Regions from separate parts of the Homo sapiens genome. Here region 1 is linked to region 2. Evidence: promoter capture Hi-C in 16 types of primary human blood cells and fetal thymus (Javierre and others, 2016). All regions are on one chromosome and are shown on one strand. Each heading gives the region's core, a stretch centred on a gene start or on the middle of the fragment in contact. The rest is flanking DNA. Distances are from core to core; before and after follow the strand shown.

Region 1 (6,699 bases), core at 981-3,480, 510 kb after region 2:
TTCTCCCTTATTTTAAGAATTCTTTTCCTAGCTGCATTTTTAAATTTTTTTTAATTTTATTTATTTTTTAAGTCTCGCTCTGTCGCCCAGGCTGGAGTGCAGTGGCGTGATCTCGGCTCACTGCAACCTCCGCCTCCTGGGTTCAAGCAATTCTCCTGCCTCAGCCTCCCGAGTAGCCGGGATTAACAGGCGCATGCTACCATGCCCGGCTAATGTTTTGTATTTTTAGTAGAGATGGGGTTTCGCCATGTTGCCCAGGCTGGTTTTGAACTCCCGAGCTCAGGCAATCCTCCTGCCTCAGCCTCCCAAAGGGCTGGGATTGCAGGCATGAGCCACCGCGCCTGGCCTCCTTGCTGCACTGGTAAGTGTTGGTGTTTTTCCCCGTCCTTAGGTCCTAATGCCCCGAGCCAAGTTCCACTGGTTCTTCTTGAAGATGTATCGAATGTGTATGGTGATGTAGAAATTGATCGTAATAAACACATCCATAAAAAGAGGAAACTAGCTGAAGGAAGAGAAAAAACCATGGTAAGGCTTTCAAATATACTTATTAACAGATTGGATGGGACGCTTTGCTAGAGATGAATCTTTGTAAAATATGGCTTTGGAGCTAAATCGATAAAGCCTGGGTTTTAAAATTGTATGATATATTAATAATTACTAAGTCAGTGGTTCTCCACTGGAGGTGATTTGCCCTCAGGGGACATTTGGCAATGTCTGGAGACATTTTTGGTTGTCACAGCTTGGTGGGGAGGGGCCAGGGTTGCTGCTGAGCACTTTACAGTGTACAGGACCACCCAAAAGGTCAGTGATGAGGTGGAGAACCCATGGTATATGTTCCTTATACATGTTTTGACTGAATGGCATCGATTCAGTTTAAACAACAAAAGCAAAATGGCATTGGACCTCTAGAGCAGGGTGCAGTGTGGGGTACTGGCCTCGGAATGGGAAGCTCTGAGGTGGGCAGGGCAGCAGGAACAGCCTATGGGCAGATGCAGAAAAGATTTCATGAAGGAGGTCAACATTTGAAATCAGTGCTGAAAGGCGAAGGGTTTTGTCAGTTGGAATTGGGAGGTAGATTTTGTTGAGAGGGAAAAGTGTGCACAAAGATGCAAGAAGCCCGAGAATGTGAAGAATCGTCAGTCCTCTAACCTGACCAGGCAGTACCCCGAGCCCGTCCCTGCCTCCCAGCCTCTGCCCGTTGAAGCTGTGCTCTGTGGTTACAGTGCTTTTCCCTTGGATCTCTGCCTGGCTAGGTCCTTGTCACTTGGTCCCAGCCCAAACGAGTCTCCCTCTGAGGCTTCTCCTGAACACCCATCTGAAGTAGCTGTCTGGTTCTCTCTTTTTATTCCTCTTTTTTAATTCTCTGCAGCATCCTCCTTGCTGTCTGTTTTTTCTTGTTTATTCACTGACTGGTTTACTGTCTCTGTCCCTCCTTCACTAGAGTACAAGCTCCGTGGGGCCTAGCATTTTCTCTGCCTCGTCCTCTACCATACCCTGGGCATCTGAGTAGTGCCTGGGCTGGAGCAGGTGTGTGGTGAGCATCTGGTGAAGGAGGGAATTCTCATTGATCCCTCCTGGGTTTGGTGTCCAGGCTATGGGATGGCTGTTTAAACCTGGTCCAGCGGTTCTTCCTTCCGGTTTTTTTTGCCTGTCAAGCACTCATCTAGCAAGCCCTGTTCTCATAACCTGGCCTTCTACCCAATGCGGAATTTCCATCCATTTTTGTTTTCATGGTCTTAACTGATTTTGTCCTGATTATCATTCTATCCCTGAGTCTGCCCCAACCTGATGCAGGTCCAGACCTTAAAGGCCCATGAGCTCAGCTCACATATATCTTGCTTTGCTCACAGTGTTTTGTTTGTTTAAATAACCTAGTATTTAAAAATTAGAAACCAGGCTGGGTGCAGTGGCTCATGCCTGTAATCCCAGCACTTTGGGGGCCAAAAGAGGAGGATCACCAGCCCAGGAGTTTAAGACCCACCTGGGCAATATAGTGAGACCCCGTCTCTATAAAAAATGAAAAAAAAAACTAGCTGGCTGGTGGCATGCACCTATCATCCCAACTGCTTCAGAGGCTGAGATGAGAAGATCCCTTGAGCTCAGGAGTTCAAGGTTCCAGTGAGTGATGACCACACCACCGCCCTCCAGCCCGAGCAACAGAGGGAGACCCCGTCTATAAAAAATAAAAAAATAAAATAGAAACCTAGCATTTCTCATAACAATCCAGATTTCTGACTTCCTTTTTGTAATTAGGATATCTGATCACACTGGCCCCTGGTGGTAACCCACAACTGGAGTTGGGGGGTGGCCCACATCAGTTCTCCAGCCAGCTGACATCACAGACTCATGTGACGTCATAAATGGCTGGTGCTGGGACAGGCCTCTCCTGTGGGCATCTGTCCCCCACCTGCTGCATTCTTGCTTCAGAGCACGCTCTCAGTGCTTCAGAGTGTACTTGCACATTTCAAAATCAGTTTCTTTAAATGTAAAAACATTTGGAACTCACACTAGTCCCACCACATCTGGGGTCCTTTCATAAATTCCTGATCTCGTGTTGAGGCAGGAATGTTTTCTGTAAGCTGCAGCACTAGCAGACGCGCCATGTGTGTTCGTGTATGATATTAGGTTGCCGTTACTTGGCAAAGAACAGGCCCCTGATGAAACAGTACCTGGCAGATACGGTTGTGGTTTTTTTTTTTTTTGGTGGAGACAAGGTCTTTCTATGTTGCCTACTCTGTTCTTGAATTCCTGGGTTCATGCAATCCTCCCACCTTGGCCTCCAAAATTGCTGGGATTACAGGGGTAAGCCACTACACCTGGCCTGGTAGACAGGTTTTGATTGGAAAAGGTGTGTTTTTCCCAATGCAAAAACATTACTTAGGGAGGATAAGAACATGCAGCAGAACAGTGGGGTAGGGAAAAGTCACCAAGAACAGGGACTAGCAGGAAGATACCAAGCTCAGAAAGTGGAAAGGAAGGTGGGCAGTGGAGGGAGGTGCTGACAGCTTCCTGCGCACCTTACCTGAGATGAGCTTGAGGATTGGAGCTTTTAGTGACAGTAGTTGCACATATTTTTATTTATTTATTTATTTTTTAGGTTTTCTTTTATCATTATTATACTTTAAGTTCTAGGGTACATGTGCACAACGTGCAGGTTTGTTACATATGTATACATGTAGTTGCACATATTTTTAAATGATCTTAGTGGAGTAAAGATCTGCAGGAAGAATTTCATTTGGGTTATTAAATCAGTAAAATGACCTAGGTGGATTAAAAGATTGAGAAAATTCTTAGCAAAATAAAATTCAGTGGAGCTGCTTTTACCTTTACATTTTTTTTTTTGGCAAAACATCTGACTCTACCCAGCGGTATTTCCAATAATTGCCTTTCTCTGTAGCCTTCTCTTTTCTGTGGGCTTTATATTACTTGAGATGAAGAGCAAGAAAAGTAGAAATGTGTATTGTAAAATACAGAGGGCTTTACTAGGTAAGTGCAGACAAATGTACTTTCTGACCAGGACCTTGCACTGGGGGAGGAGAGCGAGAGAGGGGTGACCAGTGCAGGGGAGTCATGCGCAGTGAACCAAAGATAACTAACAGTTATTCTCTGACATTATTTCTTAGAGGACGCAGGCTTTAATTTTGTTGTTGTTGAGACAGAGTCTTGCTCTGTCGCCCAGGCTGGAGTGCAGTGGTGCGGTCTCTGCTCACTGCAACCTCTGCCTCCCGGGCTTAAGAAATTCTTGTGTCTCAACCTCCTGAGTAGCTAGGATTACAGGCACGTGCCACCATGCCCGGCTGACTTTGTATTTTTAATAGAGACTGGGTTTCGCCATGTTGGCCAGGCTGGTCTCAAACTCCTGGCCTTAAGTGATCTGTCCTCCTCGGCCTCCCGAAGTGCTGGGAATATAGGCATAAGCTGCCACGCCCGGCCCCAGGCTTTAATTTTATCCCAGTACATGCCAAACCATTATTTGGAAGCCAATTAAATCATGTCACGTATTAGAAAAAAAAGTAAACTATAAACAGGTGCTGTTTAAGCTGTGTCTCTCAATGTAAAAATCTAAATTTTGACTTTCATAAAATTGATATTTTTAAACTTTGCTCTAAAACCACCATAAGCAAACATAAGAATTTAACATCAGAAAAAAAATTCACTCAATTTTAGAAGTAAAAATGGAATGTGTGAGAGTATAAAGACAAAAAAAAATTAATTTTCAAAGCTAAATTGTTAAATTCAAAAAAATTGTATGTATGTGGTATCCTTTGATATAAAATTCATATCACGGGCCAAACTGGCAGCAATAATATGTTTCCATATATGACTATATTTATAACTGAATTAACCATGTTCTCCACATTCTTTAAGCAGAGTTCAGACGATGAAGACTGTTCGGCGAAAGGAAGAAATCGTCACATTGTAGTCAATAAAGCCGAACTTGCTAACTCCACTGAAGTGTTAGAAAGCTTTAAATTGGCCAGGGAGAGCTGGGAGTTGCTCTATTCCCTAGAATTCCTTGACAAAGGTAAGAAAGCGCATGTCATTGGTGCTGTTTGATGTTTTATATAAAATCATTACGCTACTTCAAATGTCAGGTCACTTACGGCAAATTAAGTTGATTACAGTAGTTCATGCATTTTTTTTTTCTTGTTTTGAGACGGAGTCTCACTCTTTTTCACCCAGGCCGGAGTACAATGGTGTTATCTTGGCTCACTGCAACGCTCACCTCCTGGGTTCAAACAGTTCTTCTGCCTCAGCCTTCCTCGTAGCTGGGACTACAGGCACGTGCGACCATGCCCGGCTAACTTTTTGTATTTTTAGTAGAGACGGGGTTTCATCGTGTTGATCAGGCTGGTCTTGAACTCCTGACCACGTGATCCGCCCACCTTGGCCTCCCAAAGTGCTGGGATTACAGGCGTGAGCCACCATGCCCAGCCATATTGCTGTTTTTATCTGCATTAACTCCATTGTCTGAAAAACTCAAAATCCAAAAACTATAGGAAGCCTATTTTCCTTTGAGTATACTGGGTATTTTGACATTGCTTAGAAATCACTAGCTGTTTGCTAACTAAGGTATTCTTACTACACTTTGGAATCGGGGCCCCTTATTTTACTTTTAGCCCGTGGACATTCATCCCCTGGCTGCAGTCATGTGTCATACAGAGCCCTTGGCCAGATGTGCTGTGTCATCTTTTCTAAGTAAATTCAGCACCGTTCAGTTTCTCTTTGTTACATTTGGGATTGTGAACACATATGTGACAATTTTGGAGGGGATCTTTCCTTTAGTTAGAAATTGATTTTTTTAAAAATGAATAAAACCTTTTAGTGTCATTGTATGTTTGTTATTTTAATTAGGTCAAAATAAAATGGGCCAGGCAAGATGGCTCATGCCTGTAATCCCAGTGCTTTGGGAAGCTGAGGCAGGTGGATCATTGAGCTCAGGAGTTAGAGACTAACCTGGGCAATATGGCAAAACCCCGTCTCTATAAAAAAACAAAAACAAAACTTAGCCAAGAGTGATGGCATGTGTCTGTAGTGCCAGCTATTCAGGAAGCTGAGGTAGGAGGACTGCTTGAGGCCGGAAGGTTGAGGCTGCAGTGACCCATGTTAGGGCCACTGTACTGCCAGCCTGGGTGACAGGGAGAATGTCTCTAAAAATAAGATAAAAATAAAATGGGACCTTGTTTTGGGGAAAGCAAAGTGGCTTAAAAGATAAATGAGGAAATACATGAAAAGCACTTTAAACAGTTCTTGGCACCTGGTATGTGCTCAGTAAGTTGTTAGCATCTACAAAATATTGCTTGTGTATTACTGATAAGTGTTGTATGTTTCTTCTCTACTTGAAATTCTAGAGCAGTGTGTTAGAAATCAAAGTCAAAGTTACTATACATTTTTGGTAGGTTGTCTCTCTTCTCTCTTACTGGATTTGTTAGTTTGTTTTCTGCTTCTTTGCTGCATATATTTGGTAAATTTGTTCTTGAATTCTTACTCAGAATTTACAAGGATTTGCTTGGCCTGGAAGACGGATACTTGGCTTTGGTTAAGAATCTTCCTCACTGATATGATCATCTATCAGGTAGAGTATTATACATATTTTAGGTACCTGTGTCTGTACAGCATGGCTATGGTGGCAAACCAGCTTTCCTATGCAGAATGTGTCATGTTCCCTCTTGGGCTAGTCCACTGCCTCCTGACACCTGTTCTGTTTTCAGTGGCTGAGGGGGTATGGTCCATTTTCCTTTCAAAGTAACTATCGGCCGGGTGTCGTGGCTTACGCCTGTAATCCCAGCACTTTGGGAGGCCGAGGTGGGAGGATTGCTTGAGCCCAGGAGTTCGAGACTAGCCCTGGCAGCATAGTGAGACCCTGTCTCTACAAAATAAAAAACTTAGCCAAGTGTGGTGGCATGTGCCTATAGTTCCAGCTGCTCAGGAGGCTGAGGCGGGAGGATCACTTGAGCCCAGGAAGTCAAGACTGCACTGAACCATGATAGCGCCACTGCACCCCAGCCTGGGTGACAGTGAGACCTTGTCTCAAAAACAAAACGAAACAAAAACTCCAAAATGACAAGCCTGTACCTTCTGTGTTACTTTTGGTATATCCAATCACACCTCTCTGTAAAAGTAAGATTTTTACTTTTCGGTAAAAGAGGATTACTTCTCACCCTCCTCTCTCTGCTGGTGGAGTCTGCCTGGCTGTAC
Region 2 (6,387 bases), core at 86-2,585:
ACACTCTTTATCTAGAGGAGGAAAGTGAGGTACAGAGGTTAGTAGCACAGTGATAAAGCTGTTATAAGGAAGGACTTGCCAGGACCTGGAGAGAGACTGGGTGTGAGGAAGGTAGGCTGTCACAGTGTCCTGTGGGATTTTTCCTAACTGATAAACCACCCTGTATGGTTCAACTGATGCATCCATGCAGGGCTAGGATTCATTCTGACCTCGTCATAGCAGCTTTCCAGGGGCCAATCCCACTCCAGCCTAAAGCACCCCATATGCTATCATTTAAACTGCAGTAGGAACTAAGCCTTACACCAGAAATTCCTCCCTGATGGGATTCCTGGAATTGTTCCTAAATAGCTGGGTCTTATTTCCTGACAATGCCGCCTGCCCCGAGGCTTGATGTAACTCTGCACAGCTTCTGCAGTTTGGAGAGGCAGGGAAATGCCATTTTGTGTTTGAATCCAGCAGGTCAGGCTCCTAAAGAGGTCAGGTAGTCCGTGGAGAGGACTACTGGTGTTTACTGTTTATTACATCTCTCCCAATACACAAAATCTGGGGTTCACCAAAGCAGGCGGTTTTCTTCCACATGCTCCTCTAGGATGGAAAATGCCCTCCAGTGGAAATGCCTTTCCACTGTGCTTCTGCTCAATTTTCCTCCAAGATTTCCTCTAACTGTGGACTGCCAGCTCCTCCCTGACGTCTTCAGGCACCAAGCCAACCTGTTCTTGTTGCAATCCTCAAGACTCCTTTCAGCATCTTAACTTTTCCCCCAGTTTTCTTTCATTTTCTCCACCTGTCTGTGTTGACTGCGGTCTCCTTCCTTCCAGCCTTTTCCTTCCTTCATCTTGTCCTACAAAGCCACACGTGTACCGACAAGTGCCAAAGAGTTTGATCATTTACTTAATGTCAACAAAAGAAAAAAAAAAAAAGCTCCAGAGTCGCCTTGGCCTGCAGCACCCAAGCAGAGTGAACAAGTGGGGCCTGCGCACCCTCCTACCCTACACCTAGCAAGGAACCCCGAGCTCTGAAACGTGGAAAGGCCCAGATCTGCAGATTTAATCTAAGTCCTGCAGTCCCCAAGAGATCACAGACTGCAGATCCCTGTCTCATGAACTAAGAGAGGAGAGGACAAGCCTACCCCGGACTACCGCAGCTCGGGGACAGCGCGCGGGCCAGGCGGCCCGAGATGCGCAGGCCACGCAGCCTCGCCGACGAGTGGCCCTGGAGAGCCTCCAGGCGCCCGGGTGGGGCCGCGATTGCGCCCCGCCAGTCACCCCGGCATGTGGGCGCGGCGGGGCGGCGCGGGCGGGACGGCTACAAGAGCTGTTTTGCGTCCGGGCCGGAGTATTTGCTCAGCCCGCCTGCGCCGCTTGGGACGCCTCTGCCTTTCCCTCCCTCCCTTCCCCGACGGCTTCTGGCGGCCAAGTGGATGTGGCGGGTGATCGAGCCACCCTGCCCAGGGGCGCCCAGCACTGGTAGGTGCTGGGGGTGGGGCGAGGCTTTGGGGAGAGTGTGCGTGGGGTGGGAGTAGGGGGAAGGGAATTTCCTCGGAGGTTGCATGGGTGCATGGGAGGCGCAGGGGCCAGAGCGGGCGGGCGGAAGCCTCACCCCCGCCTCCACCCCTTCGCGGCGCCCGGGGCGGGCTCAGGTGCGGGGTTGGGCGGCGAGAGCGGCCGCGGCGGGTGTCCGGTGTCCGGTGTCCGGTGTCCGGTGTCTGGAGCCGCTGGCTAGGTGAGCGGCGGTCCCCGGGGCCTGGGGGCTTGCAGGGGGTGGCGGGGGAACTTCGAGGGAGAGGGTCTGCCGGGGCTGAGGACCTTCGGGGAAGTTCTGGAATCCGGCAGGGACACGCGGCGCGTGCTTCCACCCGCGGGGAGTGCAGGCCCCGGGAGGGTCCGGGCTGGCCTAGAGTTTCTAGACTCCTAGCAGGAGCACGTCCTCGACTTGCGCATGGAAATCTTCCAGGAGGGAAGTCCCGGGAAACGGTGGCAGCTGGCGCAGCACCCCCGCAGCACGTTCCCCGCGCACCGGCACCCAGGGGCGCCCCCACGTGGGGTCTGGGAGCGCGCGGAGGCCAGTGCAGCGCCGCCTCCCTCGGGCTGCAGCGGCGGGGCTGGCCCAGACCCAGACCGGGTGCCCAGTGCGCTCAGCCAAGCGGCGCCCCTGCCCGCTCCTGGACTCGGGGGTCACGCGGGCACCGGAAGGAGCTACAGTTTGTAGGTTTTCTGAGTTGTCTCTCCCTTCCCAGGGAGCTTAGAGAAGCAGCAAGCGTGGCACCTCCCCCTTTCAAACAGATGCTCCTCATCGCTCCAAAGGCTTTCGTTTGATTGCTGGTTTAATAGAAACAACGACTTGGGTACGATTATTTTAAAATAGTGAATAAATAAGTGGAAAGCATACAGGGGCATAGATTTGGCATATGAGTGGAATTCTCTATGTATACTAAATCTGTGTGTACAGTAATCTCAAATTTCTGAAGAATAGTATATATTTACAAACTGCTGTCATCTCTGGTAATTTGTTTCATCCTCAAAAACAGCCCTTTTGCTGGTAGATGAATAAGATAAAGTTTCAATAAGAAAACAAAGTTGGACCACAGAGCTGGCTGTTTTAAAAGAATTAGAATTCAAACTGTATTGTTAATGTTATAGTTACACTGTCCATACCACAATACTTTTATTTATTTTTTATTTTATTAGGTCGGTGCAAAAGTAATTGCGGTTTTTACGTAAAAAAAACCGCAGTTACTTTTTTTTTGGCCATGTAAAACACAATAACTTTTGCACCGACCTAATGTTTTTAATTTTTGAGACAGGGTCTCCTTCTGTCACCCAGGCTGTGGTGCAGTGGTGCGATCTCGGCTCACTGTAGCCTCAAACTCTCCAACTCAAGAGATCCCCCCACCTCAACCTCCCAAGTAGGTGGGACTATAGGTGCGGGCCACCACGCCTGGCTAATTTTTATACTTTATGTAGAGACGGAGTTTTGCCATGTTGCCCAAGCAGGTCTTGAACTCCTGAGCTCCAGCAATCCACCCATGTCCACCTCCCAAAGTGTTGGGATTACATGTAGAACCACTGTGCCCGCCTACTATTTTTATGATTTAGCCTGTATCTAAGGCCTTTTAAAATTGTATTTTGTTTAGGTCTCAGAGTTATTCAAAAGACAGTTGTATTGTAGAACAGTGTGAAGGTGTGAGAATCAGGCCAAATCTATGGTATCATGGAAAACAACGGATTCTCTGACCTTTTAGCAATTGGTGTTCAGAATAAATAGCAGGTGTGGGCTTGTTGCTTATCATTTCTCTCTTTTAAGAAAGGGGCTGTGTTAGCTGAGCTATTCCTTTGTTGGATCTTGAATAACCGGAGATTTGCTGCCCTTGATATAGTATGGGAAAGTCCTCTGAGTTTGAATCAGTATCAGCAATGATTACTTCCTTGTCAGGGAGTGAAAGTAGGAAAGCCCTAGTTAGTTAATTTCCTGATTTCTATTTCTTCTACCCTGGCTCCACCAGGCTCCTTCGCTTCACAGTAGATTATGTCAGATACCCACACATTAGAAGTCACAGACTGAACCAGTCCTCGTTTCACAGATGAGGAAACTGAGTCCCAAGGAGGTGAGGTGACAGCACAGAGTCACACCGCTCACTAGAGGCGGAGCTGGGAGTTGAGGCTGGAGTGCCTCTGGGTGTCTTGGGTGTACTGTGCTGAGCTTGAGTTGGGGTCTGAGAAAGCCTTGGAGCGGGGGTTAGGGGTTGGGAATTAGAGGGTGAGGGGGACAGGTGATTTACACCAGTACCATTCAGCAGTGGCAGAATGGCCACATCGTCAACGGCCTGACCACAGATAGTTGTCGGCTGGGTCCCCCAAGTATTCTTGGAGGCACAAGGAAGCCAGTGTCTTTCCTTCAAGATGAACTAGTTAATTTTAATGTTAGAAATCCACGTTTGCTATAAAAAGTAAAACAAAACAACATAAAAATGGAAATAATGTGAGAATTTCATCACAGAGGTGCCATGAACCTCCTTGCACATGTGAGAGGCTGTGCTTTTTGTGCTGTTCTTAGTGTTTGTTTGGAAGGGGAAATTGTAGAGACGAAGTGGATGACTAAGTGCAAGGGGAAATGGGACTAAGTGTCTGGTGAATACGTGGGTAAGCAATGTCCACACCTGGGTCAGTGTGACAGTCGGTTCCTTGCTGTCCTTCCTGGCTGGGGTGTGTGCACCTGGCCTCCCCTAAGCTTAGCTACAGTTGACCAGGAGGAGGCTTCTGCCCTGTGTCAAGCACCATCAGTTCAGCGTTTCTGTTGCTGCAGGAATTTGCTGGCTTCCATTCTGAAATTTCATACATGGCACCACATCCTGCTGTTCTGATTCTGGGCACACAAATAAACTCACAAAAAGGCCTCTGTGTTGTGTATTACAGTGAAGCTGAGTTAGAGCTGGACTGCCCGGCTCTGCCGCTTACCAGCTGCTGACCTGTGCTCTATCTTCCTAATCTGTGAGATGGGCATAGTGATGGGCTGGACTCCAAGGGTTATTGTGAAGATTAAGTGAGTTAACACATGTAGAGTGCTTAATTAAGATGGTGCCTGGTACAAGAAGTGTTAGCTGTGTTATCAGGAATATGCAGGGCGGGGGAGACTGGAGGAATATGACTTTGACACTTTAAGGGTTTTAGATTCTAGGATCTACCCATGCCTTGAATAGGATTCGCTGCATTCAAAATGGGGAACACAGCAGAAGTCTCAACCCCAGCTGAACTGTTCATCTTCTGCCGTGTGTGATTTCTGCGAAAACCAACCATTGAACTTAAGGACATTTACTGGAATGTCAAGGAGTCATTCTGTCTCCTTTCTTACCACTTTATCTTGGAGCTTGTGGATTTCATTGGCTCCACCCTTTGAGAAGCTGCTAGAAACAAAAAGTCAAAAGTCAAGAAATCTTGACAAGACATCCATTTTTTTTTTTTTTTTTTTTTTTGGCTGTTCAAGCCTTTAAGGGTATCTCAATGCAAAATACAAAGTTGGCAAGTGGATCTGGGAAGGGCGTGATATTACTTTTAGTCCTTTAAAATTTTTCTCTTAATGTTTGGTTCCATTTGGATTCTGGTAGTTGAATGCTGCCGAGATGATAGGTTGCAGTCAGTAGGGATAGGTGTAGTTTCATCAAGGGCCTGGCTTCACAATGAACAGTCAGCGAATCTAAGAGCTGAGTATGCACACCACTCTGTGGTAGCCTAGCTGTTGAGCGTGCTTGTCTCAAAAGACAGGTGTAAATCAAGGAACTACTTTGCACGGAAGAGGAGGAAGACGGGAAGCTGAAGGAGGCCCCCAGATGGTGAGAGGGGCATTACAAATCTAACTGTATCAATGACAAGGTGAACGAAGAGAAACCAACAACACTACGATGGTCATAATATAGCTAAGTGACTTGTCTGAAGTTTAAGACTGTTTGAACATAGTATGGAGAAACAACGTATTTGAGAGCACATGGCAAGGTGGTAAGATTATTGAGGTGTTATTATAAATAACAAATTATTGGTCAATTTCTTTTTTTTTTCTTTTTTTATTTTTGAGACAGAGTCTCCCTCTGTTGCCCAGGCTGGAGTGTAGTGGCGCGATCTCGGCTCACTGCAACCTCTGCGTCCTAGGTTCAAGCGATCTCCTGTCTCAGCCTCTTGAGTAGCTGGGATTACAGGCACCCACCACCATGCCCAGCTAATTTCTGTATTTTTTGTTTTTTTAGTAGAGATGTTGGTCATACTGGTCAGACTGGTCTCGAACTCCTGACCTCGTGATCCCCCCTCTTTGGCCTCCCAAAGTGCTGGGATTACAGGCGTGAGCCACCCCGCCTGGCCTATTGGTCAATTTCTTAGGACACATGTGATTCTGAAAAGTTGTAGTAAGTTTTTTTTCTTATATCTTATTACATCGAATCCAAAGTCTTTTGTTTTCCAGAATAGATATATTTACATAGTTTCCTGCTGATTACAAAAGTATGATGGTTTATGGGACTTAGAAATTGTTTAAAAATAGAGAGAGAAAGTATGACAGTGTGGTAATATTTTTAAGCCAATATTTTAAAATAGAAATGTGGAAAGTAGAATGAAACCTCAGTAGGATTTCCAACCACAGGAGAACTTCTAGGAGGCCACTGTGCACTCTCGCTTTATGGTTTCTCTTTCAAGGAGCCATGCGGTAAAGTCATATAAATGAAGGATCCTTTGTTATGAACCTAATGACCTCTTCATCCCCCTAGTTTATCTGGTCTGTCCATTTAGATTTTATTAAACTAGGTTATCTGGAAAAAGCACACCTAAAACTCGGTGACCTTCCAGAATGTAGATGGATGTTCTCTCTTGCACCTGCCCTGATTTTCATGGCTCTAGTAGGTTATCT

Evidence for each region. Contacts are between HindIII fragments. The CHiCAGO score rates a contact against its expected background, and 5 or more counts as called.
Region 1: a fragment that was not itself captured here is called in contact with the fragment with the promoter of SH2D4A in region 2 in 1 of 17 cell types (non-activated CD4 T cells); the score reaches 5.1 in non-activated CD4 T cells.

What each region holds. Positions count from the first base shown.
Region 1 is chr8:19,826,035-19,832,733 of GRCh38, forward strand. It overlaps INTS10 (integrator complex subunit 10), which reads left to right. Exons shown (of 17, transcript NM_018142.4): 9 at 392-525; 10 at 4,372-4,525; 11 at 5,994-6,076. Among named protein-coding and RNA genes, the nearest start is that of INTS10, 12 kb to the left of the region's middle. The HindIII fragment of the contact is 4,467 bases long and covers 1-4,464 here.
Region 2 is chr8:19,312,358-19,318,744 of GRCh38, forward strand. It overlaps SH2D4A (SH2 domain containing 4A), which reads left to right and starts at 1,336. Exons shown (of 10, transcript NM_022071.4): 1 at 1,336-1,466. The HindIII fragment of the contact is 8,347 bases long and covers 1-4,225 here.